Regions from separate parts of the Homo sapiens genome. Here regions 1, 2 and 3 are each linked to region 4. The links are contacts of gene promoters, found by promoter capture Hi-C in blood cells and fetal thymus (Javierre and others, 2016). All regions are on one chromosome and are shown on one strand. Each heading gives the region's core, a stretch centred on a gene start or on the middle of the fragment in contact. The rest is flanking DNA. Distances are from core to core; before and after follow the strand shown. Region 1 overlaps LOC105376387 (a long non-coding RNA gene). Region 2 overlaps LOC105376387 (a long non-coding RNA gene). Region 3 overlaps LOC105376387 (a long non-coding RNA gene). Region 4 holds the start of ITIH5 (inter-alpha-trypsin inhibitor heavy chain 5).

Region 1 (7,111 bases), core at 1,300-3,799, 810 kb before region 4:
TTTTGAAGAAAAAAAAAATCAGAGAACTTGTTGTACCTAATTTCAAGACTTACAGAAAAGCACAGAAATCAAGGAAGGTATTGGTAAAAGAAGAGACTTTCTAGCTCAATGGATCTGAATAGAGATTCCAGAAATAGACCTACACATACATGGTCAGTTATTTTTTGACAATGGTGCCATTTAATGGGCAAAAGATAGCCATTTCAACAAATTATACCAGAACAATTGTTCATCCATATGCCAAAAATAAAATTTATATGAAAAAAGTGAAATTTACACTATATAAAATTAACTTGAAACAGATCACCTAAATATAAGACCTACAACTATAAAACCTCTAGAAGAAAATACAGAAGAAAATTATTGAGACCTTGGCAAATAAATCTTAAGACACAAAAGAAAAATTCTGCTGATCATTTTTAGACATTTAGCGTGTCATCTGATTTCTCAACAGCAGCACTGAGAGTTGGAAGGCAATGGCATAATATGCTGAAAGAACATGATAACTGTCAACCAGATTTATATCCTCAGTGAGAATATTTTTAGGAATGAGAGCTATACCTATTTCCAGACAAAATAAAACAGAAATTTGCCACCGAAAAAAGAAAAAATCATAAAAGAAGCAATTGATTAACTGGACTTCATCAAAATTAAAAACTTCTGCTCTTTGAAACAGACTGTTATTAAAAAAAAAAGTAAGCTGCAGGCTGTCATTCAGGCTGGAATGCAGTGTGCAATCATGGGCCCCTGGGCTTAAGTGATCCTCCTGCCTCAGCCTCCTGAGTAGCTAGAAATAAAGGCCCAAGCCACTGCACCTGGCTAATATTTTTTTAAAAAATTTATAGAGATAGGGTCTTGCTATCTTGCCCAGCCTGGTCTCAAACACCTGGTTTCAAGCCATTCTCTCACTTTGGCCTCCCGCAGTGCTGGCATTCCAGGCATAAGCCACCACACTGGGCCTCTACTCTACTTTTCGATGTTTAGGTATGTTTAGATACACAAATACCTACCATTGTGTTAACAATTGCCCGTATATTCAGTAGAATCACATGCTGTACAGGTTTGTAGCCTAGGAAAAAAGTATGGCACACTGTTCAGTAAAAATTTGCAGGGTAAAATAAGCGAATAAAATCCCACTTTGTTGTTGTTGTTGTTTTCTATTATCCAAGAGAACTTTGAAATAGCTCCAGAAAACATATTTCTTATTCCAAACACATTCATCTTCATTTCGAAAGTAAAAAAACTAAAATACTAACTCAGAGAAAAATCAAATGTTTAATTTTGGAAAGTATAAAAATTTACCAAGATTATTAACAAGTAGTTACATACTTGATTTAAAATGCATGTTGTCCTTTAAGCTGCACAGACCAAAGAAGTCTTTTCCAAGCTTCTTGGTGCAGAACTATGCTGACTCAACTGAGTACTCACCCAGGCTTGGGGTCAATTCAAACCTTCCTTTAATTAAAAAAAAAAAATTTCTCCCTCCCTGAAGCAAGCTTCCTTCCATGCTGCTACTGTTATGTGAAGATGGAGCAGCCTCTTTCCAAAAATCCCATAAATCAGCAGCTCTTAGATTTCATGGCATCATGTTGATATTGCTTCTTGACTCTCTAAGGTTTAGCATTTTTTGATCACCTTTTCTTCTAAGAAAGAATCTCAGCTTTTTGGTAGTAAGTTGAGAGTTAAACTTCCGATTGACAGCTACTTAACTCATGTCCAAAAATGTTGAGATAAATGGTAGTTGAGACAGTCCAAGGAACAAGTTGAACTTTGTCATTAGATACTTGTGTCAAGCAGAGCATGAGAATGTAAACTCCTTGGTTTAAAATGATTTGGTCCTCATAGAAGCCCTTTCCCTGAACAAAGATTCAGGACCATGCTCTCAGCTCTTACCAAAGGCTGGTATAAGAAAAACCTTCGTGAAGTGCAGTTATTTATTATTTTTAAGTAAAGTTTATTTTTTCCGTATATGAGTAATTCATACTCATTATAGACAAATTGGAAAAATACAGAAAAGCAAAAGGAAGAAAAATTTTAAGATAGTCCCATTCCCCAAAACAATATGGTTCATTTCCACTCTCTCTTTGTTCTATGAAATTATTTTTAAAATCTTCCGGTAAGATAATAAACATAATTTACAAAGCATATGTTTTCTGGGAAAATAGTTCTGAGGACATGGTTTATGTTATGTCCCTAATAAGAGTCTACAGGATTTCTTGATAGAATATAAAATTGTCTCTTATAGCAAGTCAATATGGTTTCTTTTATCACACAAACTGCATAGAGCATTATCTTATTTCTCTATTATACTGGGTAACAAGAAATTCAGACAATTTCGTGCTCATTTTTAGTAATGTTCTCCCCTAATCTTCCTCTTCCCCCTCTCTTTCCATGTGAGTTCTGTTTTCTCTTTTATCTTTATTTTATCTACCATGCATATAAAATATAAATGAGCCCCTTTTTGTAAAAATCACTTACCAACTCCCTTTTGAGGAAAGTAAGACGCAAATAAATAGATTGGCAGTCTGGGAGAAGCACAGTAACTCTTTTACTTTTATTCTGGTGAAAATGCAAAGAATAAAACCTAATATTCACCAGAGGAGAAGGGACACACAGGGTGAGACAGAAAAACATACAGGGGCTGGGGACGGTGGCTCACGCTGTAATCAGAGCACTTTGGGGGCCAAGGTGGGCAGATCACTTAATGTCAGGAGTTTGAGATCAACCTGGCCAACATGGTGAAATCCCGTCTCTACTAAAAATACAAAATTTGTCAGGTGTGGTGGTGTGTTCCTGTATTCCCAGCTACTCAGGAGGCTGAGGCAGGAGAATTCCTTGATCCCGGGAGGTGGAGGTTGCAGTGAGCTGAGACAGCCTCACTGCACTCAGCCTGGGCCACAGAGCGAGACTCCATCTCAAATATATATATATATATATATATATATATTTTTTTTTTTTTTTTTGAGACATGGAGTGTCTACAAACTACAAAATTCAACCATAACACTAAGATCTTGCTGGGTACAAAAATGTACACACACAAAAATAAAATAATAAATGTGATGCACGGAAGATAAGCAGACTAATGTTTATTGGGATAATTTCGCTTACTAACCATGCTATATCCTGTTATCACTCACCTCAAACCCTACTGTCATCTAAAAGGGGAATCCCTTTCCTTGTAGGTGAAAAGGGATTCTCCTTTTATATGGCAGTAGGGTTTGAATGCATTCTTGGTTATTCTGAATGCACTCAAAATATCAAACTGTAGCCGTTTTGTTGCTCGTGAGTATCTCATGCTACTGTTGCCCTGAAAAGTCCATGCAGTATGGAGATGCTGAAGGGAACTCAGGCCACTTCGACAGGTCAGTTATATGGTAAGGTGGGAATGGGCAGAGAACGGGGATGACGTGGAAAATAATATAAATTTTAAAGACTCTAAGGGTAAAACTATTAAAAAGAGAAAATTCACAAGTTTGGAAAATAAAAAGGGAAATGAGTTTAATGCAAGTCATGGAATCTACTGGACTATCCTCTGCGAGAAGATTTAGGACGTTAGCTCATGGTTGTTGAGCTGGGACTGGCTCTGCAGAGAAGAGAGGAAGAAGCTTGGGATACTGTTGGAAGATTAGGGAGATCCTGGGAAGGCCGAGTGTGTTTTGATAAATGCAGTTTCAGCCTCACACATTGAAAGATCTGAGAAAATACAATAAATTGATAATATAATAGTAAAGATAATAGTCATAAAAATGACAGTGTTTTGCAATTAATGTGCTGCCTTTGTATTTGCTAACATTATTAAACCTTCAAAATCCTGATTGAGTAGGTGGAGCATATTATTATTATCCCCATTTTCAATATCAGGAAGTGAAGCTCATCGTTGGCCAAATGGCTTACCTGAAGTCACACAGTAAGTGACAGTATACCTCTCAGAAAATGTCCCAACAGGGAGGGAAAAAGCATGGCACACTGTTTAGTAAATATATGTAGGATGAAATGAATGAATAAAATCCTACTTTGTTGTTGTTGTTTTTTCTATTTCCATTATCCAAGAGAACTTTGAAATAGCTCCAAAGGCCGGGCACAGTGGCTCATGCCTGCAATCCCAGCACTTTGGAAGGCCGAGGTAGGCACATGACCTGAGGTCAGGCATTTGAGACCAGCCTGGCCAACACGGGGAAACCCCGTCTCTACTAAAAATACAAAACTTAGCTGGGTGAGATGATGTACGCCTGTAATCCCAGCTACTCAGGAGGCTGAGGCAGGAGAATTGCTTGAACCTGGGAGGTGGAGGTTGCAGTGAGCTGACATCGCACCACTGCTCCAGCTTGGGCAAAAAGAGCGAAACTCCGTCTCGGAAAAAAAAAAAAATAGCTTCAGAAAATATATTTCTTATTCTGAGCAAATGCATCTTTATTTCTAAAGAAAACCAACTAAAACACTAACTCAGAAACAAAATCAAATGTTTAATTTTGGAAAGTATAAAAATTCAAAAAAAGAAAACTAATATTACTGATACCCCAGAGATAAGCACAAGTAACAGTTTGGTGTTATCCCTACAGTTGATTTTCTATGTGTTTTTCTGCATGTATTTTTTGAAGTTACATATATCATGCATAAATTTGTTTTTCAGAATTTACAAATATATTGTAAACATTTTACCATCAATAAATGCTACAGCATGATTTTGTCTCTATTATGGTAAAAAACATGCAACATGAGTTCTACCCTCAACAAATATTCAAGTATACAACATAGTATTGTTAACCATGTGTGCACTGTTCTACAGCAAATCTCTAGAACTTTTTCATCATTCATGATCAAAATTCTATACCCATTAAACAGCAACTCCCCATTCGGCCTATCCCCCAGTCCCTGGCAACCACCATGCTATTTTCTGCTTCTAAGAGTTTGGTTACTTTAACTACTTCATATAAGTAGAATCATGTAGTATTTGTCCTCTGACTGGCTTATTTCACTTAATATAATGTCCTCAAGTTTCATCTATGTTGTAGCTACATGACAGAATTTCCTTTTTTCTTAAGGCTGAATAACATCACACACACACACACACACACACACACACACACACACACACACACACAGTGTATTTCCATTATTTTGAATAAATACCCAGAAGTGGGGTTGCTGGATCATATGGGAGTTCTATTTTAAATTTTTTGAGGAGCCTCCATATCTTTTTTTCATAATGGCTGTACCTACCAATTTACATTCCCACCAAGAGTGTACCAGCCTTTCAATTTCTCCACTTCCTTGCTAATATTTGTTATTGTCTCTTTTTGTTTTTTGTTTAAATAATGGTTATCCTGACAGGTGTGAGATAATATCCCACTGTGCTTTTGATTTGCCTTCCCCTGCTGATTAGTGATGCTGAGCACCTTTTCATAGACTGGTGGCCATTTGTATGTCTTTTTTGGAGAAATGTTTGTCCAAATCCTTTGCCTAGTCTTTAACTGGGTTATTTGGTTTTTTGCTATTAAGTTGTAGCGGTTCCTCACATATTTTGGATATTAGTCTCTTATATATATGACTTGCAAATATTCTCTCCAATTCCATAGGATGCCTTTTGCTCTGCTGATTGTTTTCTTTGCTGCACAGAAGCTTTTTGGTTTCATATAGTCCCACTTGTCTGTTTTTGCTTTTTTAACCTCTGATTTTGGTGTCATAGTCAAGAAATCATTGCCAAGACCAGTCGTGTAAGGCACCTCCCCTACATTTTTTTTCTAGGAGTTTTATAGTTATAGCATGATTTTTAAAGACTGCCTAATAACTCATTGGTTGGATCTACCAGAATTTATTTAACTAACATTCAGGTACTAAACATATAAGTTGTTTCTAAGTTTTGGCTAATTTAAACTTTGCTACAATAAACAACTTTGCATCTAAATTTCTTTGCACCTATCCATGCATACTTCCCTAAGATTAAATTCCTATAAATACAAGCGGTAAGCCAAAAGCATTAAACATTCGAAGTCTTTGGATATTTATGGATACAATGTACCCCTTGGCCAATGTTAGAGTATGAAAATATGTAGAATAAATGGCAATGGGGAGGTAGAATAGACTCCACATTCTGTGCCTTATCATATGTACACCACACTTAGAATCCAGATAATTTCAATGGGGAAGAACTGAGGGAGATGCAAAGGAAGCTTATTGGGTTTCACAAAAGCCCACTGGTAAATGACAGAGAACGTGAAAGGCCACATGTCTAATCAGAGACTTTTATTATAGAATAGTATAAAACAAAAAAGCATGTCAAAAAAATAGATAAGGCAACAATAATCACAAAAAATTCCCAGGTCTAATCCATGCGGGAGGGAGCTCAAGGCCAGGACAAGCCACTTGTTGGCAACGATCATAAAATACTCGCACGCAACAGAGAAAAAAGCAAAATTCTTCCTATGTCCCCCTTTTTTTTTTCCTGTTATGACAAATGACCTACAAATGAAAAAGTGTAAGAATATTGGAAGAAGATGTCATTTCAGAGGAGTTTTACTCTTTAGTTTCAGACAGTCTTTCCCAGGGTGGTAGGAAAGGTTATGCAGATGGGTATGAATACATGCTGTTGGCCGTCTTTTGAGAAATAACATAGGTATTATTATTATATTGAGAATAGCTTACGGAGAAGAAGCACTGGACATCTTGATCTGGATATATTCTGAGTAGATATTTTTAAAAAAGGTGGTGGGGGTGAAGGATGGAAACCATCATGACCATAGACTGGTAACCTTGTCATTTCTCCAGGGAAAATACTCAGGCAGAGAATTAAAAGGAGGATTCTGGAGCATTCTTTAGCAAAATAAGTGATTGCCAAGATCATGAGAAATGGATCAGGCTAATGGGGCTACCGCCTCCCTGGCACATGCCCCTGTGTGCACCAGATGCAGCTTCCCCTCTTGAGCTAACACAGCCCTGCAGTCCATGCCAGAGTGGACAACGTCCATCAGAAACGTCCATCAATGTCCATCAGAAAGAGGCACCTGGAAGGTGTCTTTGGGCAGAAATAATCCTCCAACACAGCTGGATTTAAGCTCCCACTGACTGCCTTGGGCAGATGCCCTTGTTTAGAGCTGAGATTCCATCATGCC
Region 2 (6,861 bases), core at 3,036-5,535, 760 kb before region 4:
GTGGGCAGGATTTGAACTGGCACTTCATGAAAGAAGACATATGAATGGCCAGTAAGTGCGTGAAAAGATGCCCAATATCACTAGCCATCAGCAAATGCAAATTTGAATCACATTGAGATACGACTACACACCCACTGGGTGGGCTAGAACTTAAAAGGCTGATGATAGCAAGTGTTGACAAAGATATGGAACAACTGGACCGCTCATAGATTGCTTTGGATGTATAAACTGTTACGACTTTGGCATCTTCTTGTGAAATTAAACATGCATTTACTGCACAATTCAATAATTCCTTTCCTAGGTATTTATCTAAGGGAAATAAAAACACATGTCCACAAAAAATCACTTGTATACAGATGTTCGTTGCAACTTACTTTTAAGGCTAAAACTCAGAACAACCTAAATGTCCATTTGCAAATGAGTGGTAGGCAAATTGCGTATATCTGTGTAATGCAATATTATCCAGTAATAAAAAGAAATAACTACTGATGCTCTCAACATGGATGTGTGTCAAAAATGTTATGCAGAGTAAATGAATACAGACTCAAAAGAGTACATGTTGTATGACTCTGTATATATAAAAGTAAAGAATTATCAAAAGGCCTCTATAGTGACAGCAAACAAATTAGTGATTGTCTGGGACTAGGACAAAACGACATGGGGTAACTTTTTAGAAGGACAAAAATATTCTATATCTTTATTGGCTCGTGGTTACATTGCGTGTACGTTTGTTAACTCTTGCGGAACATACCTGTAAAGTGAGTGTATTTTTTATACTGTATGTACATAATAATTTCATCAAATTGATTTTAAAAAACAAAAATAGTATATCATTTTGCAACTATCAACCTGACAAAAAATTTAAGATGTGAGGACGTGAGGACAGGATGCTTTCATACACATCAGGTAGGAAAATGAATGAGTGAAAACCTTCTATTAGAGAAGGGTGCAACACTTAGCCAAATCCTTAACAATGGATGTATTCTGTTTAATAATTTTTTTTTCATTCCTTCCTAGGACTAAATTCTAAGTAAACAATTAAAATGTACAAAGGCTTAGCTATGAGAGTGCTTGTCTAAATGTTATCATTGAAAGTATTGAAAATAAACTATCCCAAAATAGGAGCTTGGTTAAGTAAATTATATTCATGCAATAAAGTGTCATGCAGTCACTAAAAAGGATGGGAAATTATATCTGTTGATATCAAAATACATTCATGATATCTGATTAAATGTTTAAAAGACACATTTATAAAACTGTATCATACACTCTTACTTTTGTTCAAATGCAATAAAAAGGCCAGGAAATGCCAGGAGCTATTATTGGTAGTTTTACCTAGATGATAGGACTGTGATGAGGTTTTCTTTCTCTTTCTCCAGTTTATTTGCATGTTTCCCTTTATTTCAAATGCACACGTAATGTTTTTGTAAAGACAAAATTAGAAGTGTATGTTGTTATAGCAATTATTGTTCTTAAAAGGTAAAGTAAAGGGTAGCCTGAGAGGCGAGGTGCTGTGTGGAACATTATTAAGGTAAGCACTGGGGTGTGACAGAGGCTTGGACTTTAGTCTCTGTCATGGACAGATACTAGACCCAGGTGGGGAGCCCTTTTTGGCTTCCTTCATTGCCATCTGACTTCCTACTACTTCAGGCCCTCATGATATGAATTATTTTATGCCTTTTCTCAACCTATGGACTCTTCTTGATAAATCAACTTTGAAAGAAAGCTGCTGCAGGGACAGCAACCAACATTAATGATGACAGTCAAGTGAATTTGGCGAAATGATTTCATTTCCTGGGAACGTACACTCCTCCACGATACTTTAAACTCCATGAAGGGAACAACTATCTACCATAAAATATAAGAGCCTGACACCTTCAGCTGGTATAAGGTGGTCCTTGGCAGAGCTCAGCACGCGGTGGATAACAGCACTTAAACATTCACCGCAATAAAATACTCTTGTTGGAATTCCTTGAGACCTTTTCAAATGCCTCATGGCCAAATACCCAGCAAGTATCCTTGAAATAATTTGAGCACTAGAACTGAGAATTGATGTGTAAATGACGCATGGCTGCTAACAGCCACGTGAGGTCTTAGAAGGAAAGGTTAAAAGAATTCGGTTAATTACCTTGGTGGGAAGAAAGTTGAAGAGAAATTTAATAGCTATCATTAAGAATCTGAAATATTATTATAAATAGATTGTTTCCGAACCATTCTCAATTTCCACAGAGAGCAAAGCTTTTGGAGCAGCAAGAAGTCAAATAAGACATTGGTAAAGAACTTTCTGATTCAGCACTGGAACAGGCTACCAAGAGATGAAGTATTCATTCCTGGAAACCTTTCAGAATAGCATAGACAACTCACTGTTCAATTAACCTGGATCTAGCCCTGAATCAAAGAATTAAACAAATGCTCCTTGTGTTTCCTTCCCATATTAGGGAGGTGTAATTCTATCTTAACTAGAAAGTCACTCCATCAAAAGAATGCCAGAGAATTCACTGAAGTGGCCACAAAGGGCTTCATGTTAATTTTTTAATGACGTGTAAGAATGATATTCATTAAATTTAAAAAGCTTTATACATTGTGGAAGTGACACAGGATTTTTCTCAGCCCCTTTGCTGGACTCGCAGCAGGGGCATCCCATCTACTTGGCCTGCTGCACTCAGCCCCTTGCAGGAGGGAGCATGTGAGCAAGCAAGTTTGGGATCTGGCCGGCCACTCCAAGCACCAACACAGGAGCAAGCTCCATACAGGGCCTGTGACCAGACCAGGCATGTCACCTTGAGAGGGTGCTTGTGACCCTGAAGCCCCAGAGGGGGTGTGTGTGTGCTAATTAGCTCTTTTAGTGCCTCTATCCACAGCCTGATGGACGGCAGCATGTTAGCAGCTCAGCTGGTCCCTGGCCCTACTGTGTGGGGTGGCTGCCCTCTGCCAGTGAGGGCAAAAGGCCAGTGTGACAGCCTTTCTGGGTACCTGCACTTGGTGGGTCCCGAGCTCTTGTCCAGCATCCAAGAAGAATGAGGATACATGACAATTGAAGAGTGAGCAAGGCAGGGAGTTTTACTGAGTGATGAAACAGCCTTCCATGGAGAGGAGACATGGGGATGATCCCCCTAACTGAAGGCAGGAAAGTCCCCCCAGTGTGGCTGAGTCCGGGGGTTTATGGCCTCAGAATAGGGGAGGGGGCAGGCCGCAGATAGTATTGGAAAAGGCAACATTTGATTGGTTAGAAGGCATTATTCAGAAAGAATCAACCAGGAAAGTGGGGGCAAACAGGAACAGAAGTTCTCACACTGGGTTGTGGGTTTCATCCAGGACCAGCAGTCTGGTCTTCCAGCCTTCAGGCTGTTTTTTGGCTTGAAGGTGGGGTTTCACTGGGGACCCACCCCTGTCTGCCTGGGCATTTGGCTGCCTCCTGTTGCTATCAGAAGTTGTGCATGTCTAGCCTTAAAAAATTGCAGCCAATGGAAACACTGCCTATTGCAATGAAATGTAAAACAAATTATATAAACTTTGCACCCTGGAAAAAACTTTCAAGGCATTCTATCATCTACCATCAACCATGCAAATGTCTAAACTTATGCGAACTGTCAAGCAATAAATTGGAAGGATCTGTGTGCTTTTTTATAGAGATGTAGTCTTCCTTGGCCCTACCCACAAACAATAAAAAAAGTTAAGGAAATTAATGTATTTTCCCAAATTATTTGAAAATGTCACTCTTTGTTCAGAACTGCTAAGACCTAAGGTCCAATTAGGTCCCAGTAGTCGAAATGTTAAATCACAACAAAGCCACTTAAGGGGATATTAACAACACCTTGCTGAAATTCCACATTGAAACAGGCTGGTAGTGCATTCGGTTTAAATGACCTCAGTTGATTTAGGACTCAGTTTGCAACAATGGTCCCCAAAGCTTCAGCTATGAATGCTTGTCTTGTGGGGTTTTCCTGCAGCTTTCCAAACCTTTCCCTCAGGGCTGCAAATTTTAGGCATAAAGCTCAGGCTTAGAAGTGAGACTCAAGGGTCTAGAGGCTTTTTTTTTTTTTTCCCTCCTCCGTGGACTTGAGGAAAGCAAGTCACTAGCAAACTTTTGTTTCTCAGTCAAATTCCAGCTCCCAGAGCAATAATTAACAATTAGCATTGGCACCAAAATAAAACACCAGTATCTTTTGGCCAAGAGGCAAAGACAACACATTAGGCATTTAGCATCAGTTAATGAATAATTATTAATTAATCAAGTCTCAAATAAATAGCCATCTTTAGTTTTGCCAGAGACTATTTACTTTCAAATTATTCCCTCATTACCAGTAACAAGCAATTTGAGGGGCTGTACTATGGCATCAATTTTATTAATGCCACATTGGAAAGACAATCATAACAATAAAACAGCACACAGCTGTTAGAAGGGTTTTTCTATATGTATTAATCATGTATTCATAATAGATTTTAATATTCTACATCATAAACTGCAGTGTTTTAAATATAGGATGGGCAAAAAGATGAGGCAGTAATGAATTCATCACACTTACCGATTCTTATAATAAAGTCTTAAAGAACATCTCCCTATATTTTGCAAAGATATCTAGCGTTGTGTAAACCATTGTTACCAAAATATTATTGTTAAACAATATTATTAATTATAATTTACAAAACTGCTAAATAAGAAGCTTAGCAATATATTTCTTCATAGTTTATGGATCTCCTTGAAAAGGAAATGCTTTTCCCAATTTGGTTCTGGGTAAAGATGGGCAGTAAGCAGTTTCAACAGTAGCTATCTCAGCTAATTATGGATTATATTGGGCAAACTCTTAATATTTTTGTTTTAGTGTTGAAAAGAGAAGACTCTAGGATATAGGGCTCAGCTACAAGAAAATCAGAACAGAGAAAGCAGCAAAGAGATTGGTTGCACATTTGTAAAATCAACTTGTAAAAATCTCAATAGATGTACAAAATAAATGTAAAAGAACAGTGTTTTTGGCCAGATGCAATGGCTCATGCCTGTAATCACAGCACTTTGGGAGGCCAAGAGGGTGGATCACTTGAGGTCAGGAGTTTAAGACCAGCCTGGCCAACATGGTGAAACCTTGTCTCTACTAAAAATACAAAAATTGGCTGGTCATGGTGGCTCACGCCTGTAATCCCAGCACTTTGGGAGGCTGAGGCAGGCGAATCACAAAGTCAGGAGTTGGAGACCATCCTGGCTAACATGGTGAAACCCCGTCTCTACTAAAGATACAAAAAACTTAGCCGGGCATGCTGGCAGGTCCCTGTAATCCCAGCTGCTCAGGAGGCTGAGGCGGGAGAATGGCGTGAACCTGGGAGGCAGAGCTTGCAGTGAGCCGAGTTTGCGCCACTGCACTCTAGCCTGGGCGACAGAGCAAGACTCCGTCTCAAAAACAAAACAAAACAAAACAAAAAATTACCCAGGCGTGATGGTGAGTGCCTATAATCCAAGCTACTCAGGAGGCTGAGGCAGGAGAAATGCTTAAACCCAGGAGGTGGACGTTGCAGTGAGCCAAGATCACGCCTTCACACTCCAGCCTGGGCGACAGAGCAAGACTCTGTCAAAAAAAAAAAAAAAAAAAGAACAGTGTTTTTACAAAGAACTCCACTAGAAATCCTAAAAACTCTCTTTGTGCCCTTGGCTATATGTTCAAATGTTGATACAGAATTAACTAGCAGGAAAACACATCTTACCCAAGAAAATGACAGGAGGATATATTGGAAAGAGGGCAAACTTTGTAATTCAACTGGACCAAAGTTCAAATTCCAGTTCTATGAATGTGGGAAATTCACTCCGTAAACCTCGTTGCTCATCTGTAAAATGGGTCAATAAGGTATATTTGCAAGGTTATAGTGAGGAATAATTTACACAAATTATGTAAAATGCAAGGTTTACAGTAGGTACTCAATTAATATTGCAAATATATCTAAAAAAATATGCTGTGGGTAGTGATAGTAAGGAGAAAACCTAACAAGGAAATCTCTCATTCAAGCTTCCTATTTAGGACAGTCCAATTCAGTGAGAATCTTGCACAGGCCGCACATTACTCAAAATCTCTCCTTTTCTCACAAATGCTTCTACAGGACTCTGTTGGGTAAGAACTTGCGTTTGTTTTATGTATTACAATGAGGAAAGCAGAAAGGAAAGGATATTCCAAAGAAAAAAAATTAAGTTATTTCAAGCTAATAAGAAAACTGGACAGGACAAAATCTGCAAGGCCCTGCGTTACAATCTTTCCCAACAGGCACGCCCCCCTACCCTGGTGAAAAACGTCATATTTGTGGAAATTAAGTGAATATTTATAAACATAAAAACCCAAGCTTCCCAGAGGTGATTTTTGTGTTTTCCAAGCGATACCAGAAAAATTTGGAAAAGATGGATCTTCTCAATGAAGAAATGAATAAGGACACGGTAAGGATATGATTTGGACAAAGAAAGACAGGCTGATGTCAGTTCCCCTCCCTGCCTCTGATTCCAACTCTGAATTTTTCCCTCCTGATCTCACAACTATTTTTTGCAGTTTACTTGTATGTTACATGCTTATTATTGCAGGGGGCGGAAAACTTTTTCTCTACCCTCTTGGGTTTAGTAACTGGAGCCCTAAAAAGTAAACCTGCAAAAGACAGATTAACAGGAGGGAAAGAGTTATTTTATGTGCATATGGAAGGCCTCACAGAAATCAAGTGAAACCCCAAAGAGGCAGTGAGAACTGGAGGCTTATATACCACTCTAACAAAGGGCTGTAATTTGTGCAGACATGACAATTACAAAGGAACGGGAGTTTTGAGCTTCCAGGATAATTTGTGGGAAGGTAAATATATGGGGGAAACTAACGGAAGATAAAAGTTGTTTATTAAGGT
Region 3 (7,286 bases), core at 2,618-5,117, 780 kb before region 4:
AATGTGGTTAGGTAAATAAATGCACAGAGACCTGTCAGTTTTTTGCCAACAGCCAGGCACCTGTTCATGTCAGCAATTGTCAACTAATGTACTGTATTTTTTGTTTTTTGAGACAGGTTCTTGCTTTGTTGCTGGAATGCAGTGGCGTGATCATGGCTCACTGCAGCCTTGACCTCCTGGGCTTAAGCCATCCTCCTGCCTCAGCCTCCTGAGTAGCTGGGACCACAGATGCCTGCCTGCCACACACGGGCTAAATTTTTATGTTTTGTAGATACAAGATCTCATTATGTTTCCTAGGTTGGTCCCAAACTCCTGGGCTCAAGTGATCCTCCCGCTTCAACATTCCAAAGTGCTGGGATTACAGGAATGAGCCACTGCATCCAGCCCACTGTAATTTTCACATACTCACCAATGCTGGCTCTCATTGATCATATGAAATTATGAAATCACGTGAAAACAATGCCTAGTTCAGTCCAAGGGAAGCAGATACCACTGTTTTATAGAAAGAGATAATAGTAAACCTATAATCATGTCCAAGGAAGTGATGTACACAGTATTAGCTAGATGAGTGTTTTCTGTTACAGGTACCATTTCTGGATTTGACGGGTATATTAGTCATGCGAAATAGTCTTTGCTCCAGATATAAAGGAAAGAATAGAAGGCAACATGATGCGGTAGAAAATAATGAGCTATGGAAACAGATAGGCGTGAATTTAAATTTCTGCTTTACTTCTTCCTACTATTAAGATTGGACCCACTGAGCTTCAATATTTTTACCTGTAATATGAAGATAATGAAACAAATGTCACAGAGTATTACATACTAGTTTCTAACTTTTTTCTTCCTTCGAATCAAAAAAGAAACCACATGTGTTTAAAATATGCACCACTCAACATTCTAAGATGGAAATAGCTTAAAGTACCAAATTTGAGATTGATGTATATTGGGGGATGGAGATTATTAAATTTCCTTGTTCAGATGAAACATAATTAACATAATCAGTTTGGAACTTTTTTCATGCCTAATTCACTTTCTAGTCCAAAAATAATGCTGTGCAAATTATTGGCACGTTGTTTCATTTTCATGCCTAATTTAAAAAAAAAAATCTTTTCCTTGTGCTCAAATGCCTATTTAGTTCCATTTGGGCCATTTTCTTTGAACTAAATGCAAATGAGGGAGGTTGCATGTATTTCATAATCTCCCTTTAATCAAGATCACTATGAAGCATCAGCCCCCTGGGTGACGGGTGACATAAATCATATTAACTTAATTCTGTGTGTTTCATTAAAGGATTTAGTATTTTTATGAACCAGAATATCTGGGTCACTGCCATAGAAGCTTCAATCAAGCTGCAGATCTTATGGAGTCAATGATGTGTTGCTTATTTGATGAGATGAAGATGAAGTGCCTACTCCCATCTCATACTGGCCTCATTAACACATGGTTGCTTTAAGAGTTCATGAGTTTTGGCCAGGTGCGGTGGCTCATGCCTGTAATCCCAGCATTTTGGGAGGCTGAGGCAGGCAGATCACAAGGTCAGGAGATCGAGACCATCCTGGCTAAAAAATACCCCCCCACCAAAAAAAAAAAAAATTAGCCAGGCATGGTGGCAGGCTCCTGTAGTCCCAGCTACTCAGGAGGCTGAGGCAGGAGAATGGCGTGAACCCGGGAGGTGGAGCTAGCAGTGAGCCGAGATTGCGCCAGTGCACTCCAGCCTGGGCAACAGAGTGAGACTCCATCTCAAAAAAAAAAAAAAAGTTCACGAGTTTAGAAGAGACAGTTGGGTCCTGGCCTCAGGAAACAAAGAAGAAATCCAGATCTTATACAATGTGCTGGACATAAAAGTATAACAATTTTTGATTCTCTTCCCCTTCACCATTGAAATCTATGGTTTCTCTATATGACTGTTTTCTCAACAATCCAAAAAGGCAAGGTTGGCAGCATGCAATCTGCTGAAGAATCCTGCCTAAATACCCTTTTCCACTTCACACTATCTACCGTGGAGTCGTTTTGTCTCTATTTTATTCCTGAATGAATAAACTATGACATCCCAAACCTGATCATTTGTCTATACTTCCAGTCAACCACTTCTGCGCAATATCTAAATATTTATGTTTCTTTGTCAAATGACAGGACCAAGAATGTTTCTGTAATATTCATGAGAACAAAGGAGTTGTCAAGAGAAGAATCTTTGCTTCCTGAAGAATGGACATGAAAAAAGCTGGGAAGAAAGATTGGGCCCACAGTTTACAAAGGTTTCAAACATCTAGGTGATTATCCTCGTATGATAGGAGCTTTTGACTGGATTGTATGCAGTTAAAATTGACTGCCCAGCATCACATAAATGCAGTGTTAGAAGGATTTCATAAATTAGGAAATCTGGAAGCATCTGGGAGAGTGGATGGTTCACCTTGGGTGGCAAGAATGGCAGGTATAAGGTTTTCACTGGAAAGTAAGCCTATTACATATACTATTTCCTTTTCTGAAAATCTCCAGGGTCGCTGCTGGACACAGAACTTGGGAATGGGAAGAAACTTCCAGAGCTCTGTCCTCTCGCAGATGATCAGAATATAGGTACACACAGTGTACAGTTTCTCAGGGTTGTTGGTGATACCAGCCCAATTTCCCTATAGAACTGATGTTTGTGGGTTTTTTGAATAAACACAGAAATTCACCCCCTTAAAATTAAAGGTTGAAACTTACATTTGTCTTCTCTGGGTTTTTTTTTTTTTTTTTTTTTTTTTTTAAATGAAGTCTCACTCTGTCACTCAGGCTGAAGTGCAGTGGTATGATCTCTGTTCACTACAACCTCCGCCTCCAGGGTTCAAGTGATTCTCATGCCTCAGCCTCCCAAGTAGCTAGGATTACAGGCATGTGCCACCACACCCTGCTAGTTTTTGCATTTTTAGTAGAGATGGGGTTTCATCATGTTGGCCAGGCTGGTCTCAAACTCCTGACCTCAGGATATCCACCTGCCTCAGCCTCCCAAAGTGCTGGGATTACAGGTGTGAGCCACCAAGCCTGGCCCTTATCTGAGTTCTTTCAGGCCTCCCAGATAGTATCAAGGAACTGAAACTTACCAAATAACCACATCCAGACAATGAGTTGCCAGATCCCTCATCCACCATGACTGCCTAATTGACCACCTGCTTCCTGCTGGCCAACTCCTCCTCCTTATCCTCCCTAATCTCTGTATTCCCACACATAGCTACATTCCTTCCTCGCTAGATAAACCCAAGTTTTGATTGGTTGGGAAGATGGATTTGAAACTCATCTCCTATCTCCTTAGTGATGTCACCTGAACAAAGCCTTTCTTTCCTGGAAATATTCATCTCAGTGATTGCCTTTCTGTGCAGCAAGCAACAAGCCCTAGACGGAACCCCTAGTGTTCAGCATCATTGGCAGTCAGTGCTCACTTCTCCCCAAGAGAAACAACTAACTCCCCCATTCTGAAGAAGCCTAAGAAACAGTCGTCAGCAAGTCACTCGGAAGTGTCCACCATCATCTGGGTTAGGATTCGGATTCTTCTGATAGGGTTTGCAAAGAGCAGATTTATCCACAGGATTTGGCTTCTTGCTTTGCATCATGAACCCCTTCGAGAGTTTTATAAAAAATTTTAGATCCTCTCCCAGAATTTGCACATACATGCAAATATTATTGTTTGCAATAAGCCTCTTACTCCAAGTTAAGACCTTATGACCTAGACTTTGAAAAGCTTTATGTTTTAATGGAAGCTTTGACATTAACAGCAATAAACAGAGGACTTTTGCCCAAAGAAAGCCACTTCTTTGAAGTTAAATGCTGTTATTGTCCTGGTCACTGAAGCAGCAGCTTTGGAGACATATTGGAAAGCTCAGGTTCTTCATGAGTCCAGAGTCACTTCCAGAAATAAACAATGCTTATTCTGAAACTTATCTCCTATCTCCTTAGTGATGTCACCCGAACAAAGCCTTCTGGGACCAGTGGTTCTCACCCCTTGGCTATGTATAAGAATTCTAGCGAAGCTTTTCCAAATTATACATGCCCAAGAAGACACACACACTTCACAATATCAAAACTTAACAACAAACTACAGTAATCAGTATTGTTCTGGCATAAGGACAGACATGTAGACGATGAAATAATATTGAAAGTCCAGAAGTAATCTCTTATATTTATGGTCAGTTGATCTTTGATGAAGGTACAAGAATCGATTTTTTAACAAATAGTGCTGGGACAACTGGATATTCTCCTTGAAGATAAAGAGATAATGTCTGCATTCTGGGGAGAGTGTCAGCCATGTGCACTTTCACTTTTGCTTCTGTTTTAGTCAACTTCCATGGGGACTCTTATATTCCAGCTTTGGTTGAGATCCATGCTACAAGGTCAATTTATGATAGTTGATGTTTTCATTTGCATCTTTTTTCTAGCTCTCATTTTTTCTAACATGGTTAGGAAATAGGATGTTTCTGTTCATTGAACACTCTAGACAGTAGCTGGCTGCCACTGATGGTGCCAGTGCAGTGTGAAGGCATTAAAATGGCATCTGAGGCAGTGGGGAGAGAGAGGAACACATGGCTTCAGAATCCAACAGAACCCTCATCAATTTGCGGCTCTACCAGTTACTGTATGTCACCTGGAGGAAATGATTTAAACTCTTCAAACTGCAACTTATCTATCCACAAAACAGGAAGCAAAGTGTATCTGCTGGTGTTTTGCAAGGTCTCTATGAGATAAATGTTTTCTTAGTTAGTTTGTTTTTTTTTGTTGTTGTTGTTGAGACAGGGTCTCGCTCTGTCGCCCAGGCTGGAGTGCAGTGGCATCATCTCGGCTCACTGCAACCTCCATATCCTAGGTTCAAGTGATTCTCCTGCCTCAGCCTCCCAAGTAGCTAAGATTACAGGTGCATGGCACCACGCCTGGCTAATTTTTGTATTTTTCATAGCGACAGGGTTTCACCATGTTGGCCAGGCTGGTCTTGAACTCCTGACCTCAGATGATCTGCTCACTTCTGCCTGCCAAAGTGCTGGGATTATAGGAACGAGCCACTGCGCCCAGCCGAGGTGAATGTTTAACAGTTCCTTGCATATTATTGCATACAGTTAGTGCTCAATGTACGTCAGCTGCTATTACTGTTGGCATTTGTTGTTGTTCTCATTATTACTACTAAACCAAGGCACTGAGGTGAGAGATCTTATGAGCGATGTGGATTCAGTACAAGGCAAATTAATTAATTTGCCATAATTATAATAGGTCTCCCGACGCTTAAACCTACCACTTTCCCTTAAACTGTTTTCAGCATCCAATTCTTCAGGTCTCCTCTAACACCTTCCAGTTTGCCTTTTACCTTTGAAGGAAATTTGCTTGGCCTTTGAATTGAGTCCACCCAGGCCCTCACCAGTGACAGGATCTTAGGCATGCTCTGTGACCTCTGTGTCAAACCTTCTCCTCTGAAAGCTGGAAATGACTTCTTAGTGCCGTCCTCCTAAAGATGCTTATACAGAAGGAATGCTGTAAAACAGGGGTCCCCAAACCCCATGCCATGGACTGGTACTGGTCTGTGGCCTGTTAGGAACAGGGCCACACAGTAGGAGATGAGCGGTTGGTGAGCAAGCATTACCGCCTGAGCTCCACCTCCTGTCAGATCAGCGGTGGTATTAGATTGTCATAGGAGCGCAAACCCTATTGTGAACTGTGCATGCCAGGGATCTCAGTTGCACGCTCCTTATGAGAATCTATTGCCTGATGACCTGAGGTGAAACAGTTTCATCCTAAAACCATCCCCCCATCCCGATCCGTGGAAATATTACCTTTCATGAGACTGGTCCCTGGTGCCAGAAAGGTTGGGGATTGCTGTCTTAAAAGATATAAACCACTCAGAGCTAGGCCTGGTGTGCAGTGATTTGTGGCTGTTGTTTTCATTATTTTTGGCTATTGGAGATTTGGAAACAATTGATCTTTTCTGTCATGAATTTTCACTTTCTAGTTTTTCATGAAATTGACTTTATTCAATTATAAAACCATAGAGCTCTAGAACAAGCTTGTCCAACCCGCAGCCTGCAGGACACATGCTGTGCGGGACAGCTTTGAATGCAGCCCAATTCAAATTCCTAAACTTTCTTAAAACATTCTGAGATTTTTTGGTGGTTTTGCTTTTTAGCTCATCAACTATCGTTAGTGTCAGTATATTTTGTGTGTGACCCAAGACAATTCTTCTTCTTCCAATGTGGCCCAGGGAAGCCAAAAGTAGGGACACCCTTGCTGTAGAACATTAAGCTCTAGGGACCTTTGCGAGACTTTAGTTCAACTCCTCACTTTGCAGTGGAAAAATCAAAGGTGAGAAGTTCCCTGGGGCTGCAATGCAGAGCCAAAAAAATGAATGCAACATTGTGAACAGGTTCCCTCAAGAGAGCCCCCATCCCCCATCAACCCACACATTCAGGTCCTGCTGATTTTTCCCTTCTTTTTGGCCTGAGTATTAATATACATATCTTTTTAAATGTTAAGCTAAAAATGAGGACATCACCCATTTTTGCTTTGCTTTGTCCTTGGTTCTATTTAATGTCTTCAAATCTCTAATTTTTTTTTTTTTTATGTTTTCATCTTTATTTGTTATAAAGCTTTTTTTAAAGGAAATTTTTGTAATGTATGTAATTGTTCACTGTTTTACTCTTTTCTCCTTTCTTTAGAACCTGTCAAAGCCAAAATATCATTTGGGGCTATGCCAGATGTTTTCCCACCAGGTCAGAAAGGTAAACGTATTTTTGTTCAACTGGATTAACTGGAAAGAAGATAATTAAAACACATATATAATATATAGTATTTGATGATATATAGTAATCTTATATAATAATATATATTATTTTAGTAATAAATTATTTAACCTTAAAATATTATTAAGTCTTTAACTAACCTTGATAATAATGGTTTGTATGATTCATTGCTTGTCAGAGTTACTAGCCAAGTCATTTATAGTCCAATGTTTATACTTAATAAACCAATTCAATTCTTAGTAAATGCTCATATTAGTGGTTGGCATTTTTGAGTTGAAAAACCTATGTTTAAGTTTCAATTCTACTGCCTGTCTGACTTTTAGGGGAAGACATCAGAATCTCAGTTTCATCGTCCTCAAATATGAAATAACAACAATAATAACACTAATAATCATACCTATCTCTAGAGTTTCAATATCATAACCATGGCTTTGTGTACATACAGACTGATTGTTCCCCAAGATACTCCCTATCCACCCTCATCACCCCAACCTCCAAAATATACACCAGTGAACTCAAACAGCAACAAAAAGA
Region 4 (7,061 bases), core at 194-2,693:
CTGATAAGTGACAGAATCAAGAATCAAGTGGTCCCAGACATCCTGGTACCAAGCCCATGCCTTCAGCCATCTACTAAAACATCTCCCAGTTATTGAGCGTCCACTGTATACCAGGTGCTTAACACAAATTAGCTGAGTCCTTGCAAGTTTGCTCAAAAAGAGCCGCATTCCCTGCCCTGACCAACGAGGACATGAAGGCTCTGAGAGATTAAAGGGCTTGCCCGGAACACACAACTAAAGCCCAGCCTGTCTCTGCATCCAAAGCCTGCACTTTTCCAACATCACTACGATGCCTCCTGGGATTTTATTAGCTACTCCCCCCCTAGAAGGAAGTATCATTACTACCACTTTACTGTTAAGCACATTCACAGGACAGAGAACATGAAGATAACTGTCTTCATATTTAGGCAGTTGGGCTTCAAAACTGCTCTTCAAAACAGGGGCTGGAAAAGGGAGAAAAGGTCCGCCTACTTGTATCTTCCTCCCACCGTGCACAAACACGCTGGAAGCTAAACGGCTTAAATATTTAAATGGCATGTGTGTGAAAGCACTTCTACTTTGTGACAGGGCCATGTTGCACATTAGCTCTCAATGCTATTTGTGTGAACCCGCTTCATACTTTTTAAAGACAAAAATGCTCTATTCATCATTTTATTGACATTTCATATTTGCAGGTTTTATTCGCCTGCGAGGTTAAGACATTTGAAACACAAATCCTGACAAACGCACAGACCAGCAACTCGAGGAACTCAGACGCTTTGGCTCTCGGTGCCACCTTTAAATGCTAAACCACCGGTAGGTAGTCGCTAAATGGGAAAGTCGTGTTCTCCCGGTTTTCAGGTGGGAAAAGCTGAGGCTCCCAGGAGTCTAGAACTCCTCTCATATTGCCTTTCTCCCTGGATCAACTGGGAATGATGATAACAGCAGACTGCCCCCCACGCGTGATAAGGAAAAAACCTTGTAATTATAATAACTTTTGGAGCTACCTCAGAAATTAACAACGACGAACAGAAATCTGCGCAATCAACAGGAGCCAAGAAGAAAAACTCGGCTCCGCAGGACAAGTCCCGGGCACAGTTCTGCAGGAAGCCTCAGGCCAGATCAGGCACCGCGGCTCACACAGAGGTGACGCACGAGTGACCCACAGAGAGGGACCCCTGGGCCTCTGGTGGGGGCCTGGGAGACGGTCGAAGGGGGCCCGGGCAGAAGCTCCGCGGCCGGGCCGGCGGAGGGAAGGGGGCGGCCGCGCCCGGGACCCGGCTCCCCTCGGCTCCACTTACCTGCTCCGAAGAGTGGCCCCAGCTCTGCGCCTCTTCCTGCGACCCCACACACAGGGACAGCCCCAGGCACAGCCCCAGCAGCAGGAGCATGGCGGGGCGAGGGCGCGGGACGCTCGGGGACCCGGCGGGACACGCTTTGCAGCGCCCAGGGCTCCAGCCACTGCGGGACGCTCTCGGGGCCGCCCACCCCGCGGTCCCAGCCCGGACCCCGCCCACCCCACGGACCCAGCCCGGACCCCGCCCACCCCGCGGTCCCAGCCCGGACCCCGCCCACCCCACGGACCCAGCCCGGACCCCGCCCACCCCACGGACCCAGCCCGGACCCCGCCCACCCTGCGGTCCCCTCCTGGACTCCGCCCACCCCACGGACCCAGCCCGGACCCCGCCCACCCCACGGACCCAGCCCGGACCCCGCCCACCCCGCGTCCCAGCCCGGACCCCGCCCACCCCACGGACCCAGCCCGGACCCCGCCCACCCTGCGTCCCCTCCTGGACTCCGCCTACCCCGGTCCCAGCCCGGACCCCTTCCACCCCGCGGTCCCCTTCTGGACTCCAACTCTCCCACCCCAGCCCAGACCCCACTTCCCCGCCCCAGACCTTCCCACACCCTGCCTCCCTGGACACCCCCCAAGCCCGGCCTCGCCTCCCTGTCCCCAGTCAGGACCCAGCTTCCCCAGGTCCCCAACCCCAAGCTCCGTTTCTCCACGCCCCCATTTCCCCCCACCTCCCCAGTCCCGGCCCCACCTCTCCTGTCCCTGTCCCCACCGAGGCCAACTTCCCAGACCCCACCTACAGCCACCCCCTTAAACCCGGCCCGCCTCCCTGTGGCCCCCACACCAGCCCCGCCTCCTCCCCAGTCCCCACCCCGCCCGGCGCCGCTTCCCGGCCTCAGTCCCACCAGAGCCGCGCCTCCAGCCCCCAGTGCTGGGCTAGCTCTGTTCGGGGAGAAGGCATTCCAAGCCTGCCTCGCCGCGCACAGCAGGGGCCACCTGTGTTGGCCCCACGGACCCCTCCCACACCCTCCCATCCTGCGGCTGTGACACTTAACCAAGGACCAGTCTCCTCTGTAGAGCCTCCTACTCCGTTTCTTGCCAACACCCACTGCCTCCCGGGCCCTACCCCACGCGCCCCCGCAACTCTTTCTTCCTCTCCCTCAAGGTGCAATATGCTTCTTTGCGGACTTGCTTAATTTCTGTCGCCAGAGGACGCGAGAAGGCCAGCCTGGTCCTCAGCACACAGCCCACCCCGCACCTGCCAGCCTGAAGCCGGCAGATCGTCCCCTCTGCATTGGCCAGGGACGCTTAATAGGCAGGACAAAGGATACTACCTGCAGTCTAGCGCAGGAGGGACTAGCAAGGCTGCCAGCCTTTATGTTCTAAGGAAACAGAGGAGACGAGGGAAGTATCTTGGTAGCGTGTAGTATTTCTGAGTTTCTGGTTATTAATCATGTAAGTGAGTGCCAGTATGTATCTTAGTTACAAACTATTGGTGATACTTCCATCCTGCCATTGGAAGAATTCTTACCCACCAGCCGTCCACACCTGGCCTTCTACAGGCTGAGTGCGTCTTTTTTATCTGGTGATACACATTGCAGTTGGGGCTACTTGTTTATTTCATGTTGCAAAGGATGTTTTTTATGTCTCTGTGATAATTTCATCTAAATAGGTGAGGTGAGTGACAGACCCTTTAAGGACCAAGAACAGGGAAGGGGCTAACTTCGGACCATGGAATAGAGAATACTATTCCATGCAGGTTACTATGGGGCCATTAAATAATCGTGCGACGTCTCCAGAAACATGGAGAATGTTGACAGTGTAATCTAAAGAGAAAATCACATCACCAAATCGTATCAACAGTATGATTGCAATTAGGTAGAAATACATATGGAGGGACATAACTAGAAAAAAAAAACATGAAAAATAAAAGCAGTGGGTAGGTTAGTTTGTGGTGAGATCCTCGAAAATATCTATTCTTGTTGAAATGCTCTTTGTTTAATGAATTAGGAGAGGTTAAAAACAAACACCTTGCTACTGTGAAATAAATGAAAGGAAAATTATTGTCATCAGCAGTTAATCCTTTAATAGCCTAACCACTAGTCAGCATGCAACCAATAAGAAACAACTGTAGCCGGTTATTTTTCCCTCCAGAGGAAAGTAACTATTTGTGAACCAGAAGTTGAATTGGACAAAGCCAGTTTATTTGCAATAGGGAACCATACAGCGGCCATTATTTCAACCCATGATTGCAACAGAACAGAGACTCCATCGTCTTTCCTTCCCTGCCATCCCTAACTTGAAATGCTGAAAGGGCCCATATTAAACTATTTTTGCCTTTATATCTGATCTCTTTTTTTTTCCCAAATTCATACTAACTGGGTTTTACAGCAGTCTAATGTTAAGAAAAGTGAGTTTTATTTTCATCTGGGAGGACCCTCTGATTCTACCCTAGACTGTGGTTCTAATGTGTTGTTTGTTTAATATAAAGCCAGTTTCTCCAACTGGATCTGTTCTTTGAGGACAAGCCTCTCCCCCAACTTCTAGAACTGTGCTAAATATATTGTTAGCACTTAAGGACCTTTTGATGAATGAGATTAGTAGATGGGAGGAATGAGTGTGGATGGTAGAGCCAGGCTGTGCCAGGGAGGTGGGGCTGGGCTATAGTGCAAACTTGACCGCTACCTAGCTGTATGACTTGACAGAGTTTCTGAACTTCCTATTATTTTCAAGCTGTAATAGTTCAGTATTCTATGTGACACCTGTGTATCTCTATGATGATCTTTAAAATCTAGGTAGGTGTGATAAAAATAAGACCTAGTGAAAGTTTTCCAAGACTGTCAACAAGCAAAGACAGTGATTTATATCAGCCTTATAAATAAGGGCCAAGGTGTCCCCACATACATTTGTCCTTTGATTCCATGTTTCTCATTTTACCTCCAGGAGGAGCTGAATTTCCAGTTACTGAACACATAAAATCTCAAAGCTAGAAAAGACCCTGCACGATGTCTAGCTCAATTCATTCACCAGGACCATGTGCCACGAGTGACAAATCACAGGGAAGGCCCCCGGGGTTCACGGACAGGATCTAGAGGCAGAGCTCAGCGACAAGGGACTCAGAGTCCAAGAATGAACAGGAGCTGTTTCTCCTGGGCCAGAGATGCTGCTCTGTCCACGCCACTTCTAGGAAATCATTCCCTCAAGTAACTGAATGATGGGCCAAAGTATTCCAGAATTGTCGAATCACACTTGTGAGAGTTATCCCTTTATCCTGGTCTCCTACTGGAGACTACCAATAGATGGGCCCAAAATCATGGTCAAAACAACCATGACTTAACGAGATTAACGAGTTGAAAGCAGGCTGCCTGTTTGTTTTCTTTTAAACCTCTCCCTTGATTTTACATCCTGACACCCCATAGCTCCTAAATCTAGCTATGGTTAGAGTTAAGCCACCACCCAGTTCTTTGGTCTCCACCTCCTCTCCCTCTCTCATCCTCCCTTCTGAGCCTCTGTAAGGCCATTGTTCTATTTGGGACAGCTCTTTCTCCCCATCCTTGGTCTACTCCTTTTTTATCTACTTATATGGCCTTGTGTGTTTCTCTTGGCCCCCTGACAACTGTGTAGAATCGCTACAGGTTTTTACAACCTTGGCTTTTTTTTTTTCTTGATTAGAGGGGACTACTAGGGAGGAAATGGGTTCCTTTTGACTTTGACTTGATGATTTCTCGGGAGCCCAGTTATAGCGTGTCAGGAGTCTAGTTATACCTACTTTTCATCTGCTTCACCAAACACTGAGTTTTGTCCACAGAGATTTGTGAAGGAAGAAATAGGGAATGCAGTTTTCTAATATATGATTGGTGATTGCTGAACTCAACTGTTCACAAAGTGTAACACTTACCATATTTTAATTATTGGCTTGCAGATTTGAGACCTAAATTAGACTCTGATTTCTTCATGGTCAAGGATTCTATCATTCTTGTTTTGACATCCTCAGGCTCTGACACATGGCCTGGAATAGAGTAGACGTGCTGTATGCTTGATGAATGAATGAAAAAATGTATATCTGCCATTATGTTACCCTGTGCTAGTTGTGTGTAATATGACAAGTTTTAGACAGACTCCGTGACCTTGAAGAAGTTACCATTTAGATATGAAGATGGAGCTAACAAAATGGACAAAATTTGAACTCAGTAGTGATTTCCTAAGAGGAGAAGGGACAAGATTGTGATTGTATTTGTGGTCTGGAAGGCTTCATGAAGGACGTGGAAATTAATATTTGCATGAATTTGATTTTGAAAGCCAAGTGGAGAAGAGAAAACATTAAGGAGACAGAGGAAGGAGGGGGAACAAGGGTGGAAAAGGCTTTGACAGTGGGGAAAGAACAATATAAAATTCTGAGGTTCAAGTCTGGGCAGTTGCCTGTGGAATTTGGTGGGGGGGGTGGGGGTGCTGAAAACTGGGAAAGTATAACACAGTGATCCCCAAACACAAATCTGCCAACCAGTGCACATTCCTGACCCCACTTTCTCCATCTGCTTCTGAAAGGAGAAAACTGAGTCATCATGGTGTATTTCTTTTTTTTCTTTTTTCTTTTTTTTTTAACTTTGAGACAAGATCTCTGTCTCCCAGGCTGGAACGGAGTTGCGTGATCTCAGCTCCCTTCAACCTCTGCTTCACGGGGTCAAGCAATTCTCCCTCCTCAGCCTCAACCATGCCTGGCTAATTTTTGTATTTTTAGTAGAGATGGGGTTTCACCATGTTTCCCAGGCTGGTCTCAAACTCCTGAGCTCGAGTGATCTGTGTGCCTCAGCCTCCCAAAGTACTGGGATTACATGTGTGAGCCACTGTGGCCCGCCAACTTCTTACTTTAAAGAACTGTCCTTTGCTCTGCCTTAAGGCTTTTGTTACTCCTTGATCAATAATAATATTGATAACACTGCCTCACTGTGAGCCCGTGGGGTGGAGAGTGAAAAGAGTATGTCCCCAGGGGAGGTATGTATGTTGGGGAGGGGATGGTATGTATGTTGGGGAGGGGATGGTAAACCAGGATCTCAGGAAAACAGTGGAAAACCTGCTTAGGTAGTCATGGTGGCTCGTTCCTCTAATCCTAGCTATTCAGGAGGCTGAGGCAGGATGATCACTTGAGGCCAGGAGTTCAAAACCAGCCTGAGTAACATAACAAGACCCCCATCAGGAAAGAAAAAAAGGAAGGAAGGGAGGGAGGGAGGAAGGGAGGGAGGAAGAGAGGGAGGGAGGGAGGAAGGGAGGGAGGAAGAGAGGGAGGGAGGGAGGAAGGGAGGGAGAGAGGGAGGGAGGGGGAAGGAAGGGGAGAGGAAGAGAGGGATGGAAAGAGAAAGAAAGAGAGAAGGAGGGAGGGAAGAAAAGAAAAATGGAAGGAAGGGAGGGAAGGAAAGAAAGACAGAAAGAGGGAAGGAAAGCAGGAAGGAGGGAAGGAAGGGAGGGAGGGAGGGGAGGGGGGAAGGGAGGGAAAGAAAGACAGAGAAAAAGGGGGAGGAAGATAAAGAAGGAAGGAAAAGAAAGCAGGAAAGAAAGAAAAGAATAACCTTCTTGATGATACAGAAATCCTGCTCACACATCCCACAAACGTAGTAGCACATGCAACTTATAACAACGACTACTATTTCTGTTTCCCATGCTGGTTGCCACTACCAATACTATAAAGTGAGTAGTTGAACACGAGTACTTTTCCAATGACATCAGTGCTGTTGGCTCCCTACCCAGTATTCATCCAGGCTGTGACACCTGTCCAGAGTCATATATGTCAAGA

Evidence for each region. The method cuts DNA at HindIII sites, captures the fragments that hold promoters and counts their contacts. A CHiCAGO score of 5 or more calls a contact.
Region 1: a contact is called between a fragment that was not itself captured here and the fragment with the promoter of ITIH5 in region 4, in 1 of 17 cell types (neutrophils). The highest score is 5.4, in neutrophils.
Region 2: a contact is called between a fragment that was not itself captured here and the fragment with the promoter of ITIH5 in region 4, in 2 of 17 cell types (naive CD8 T cells and naive CD4 T cells). The highest score is 5.8, in naive CD8 T cells.
Region 3: a contact is called between a fragment that was not itself captured here and the fragment with the promoter of ITIH5 in region 4, in 1 of 17 cell types (total CD8 T cells). The highest score is 5.8, in total CD8 T cells.

What each region holds. Positions count from the first base shown.
Region 1 is chr10:6,849,781-6,856,891 of GRCh38, forward strand. The region is part of intron 3 of LOC105376387 (a long non-coding RNA gene); the gene reads right to left. Among named protein-coding and RNA genes, the nearest start is that of LINC00707, 74 kb to the left of the region's middle. The HindIII fragment of the contact is 2,111 bases long and covers 1,495-3,605 here.
Region 2 is chr10:6,897,933-6,904,793 of GRCh38, forward strand. All of the region lies in intron 3 of LOC105376387 (a long non-coding RNA gene), which reads right to left. Among named protein-coding and RNA genes, the nearest start is that of LINC00707, 120 kb to the left of the region's middle. The HindIII fragment of the contact is 754 bases long and covers 3,909-4,662 here.
Region 3 is chr10:6,880,913-6,888,198 of GRCh38, forward strand. The region is part of intron 3 of LOC105376387 (a long non-coding RNA gene); the gene reads right to left. Among named protein-coding and RNA genes, the nearest start is that of LINC00707, 100 kb to the left of the region's middle. The HindIII fragment of the contact is 270 bases long and covers 3,733-4,002 here.
Region 4 is chr10:7,665,523-7,672,583 of GRCh38, forward strand. ITIH5 (inter-alpha-trypsin inhibitor heavy chain 5) reads right to left here and starts at 1,444. Exons shown (of 14, transcript NM_030569.7): 1 at 1,281-1,444. The coding sequence starts at 1,370. The HindIII fragment of the contact is 13,140 bases long and covers 1-7,061 here.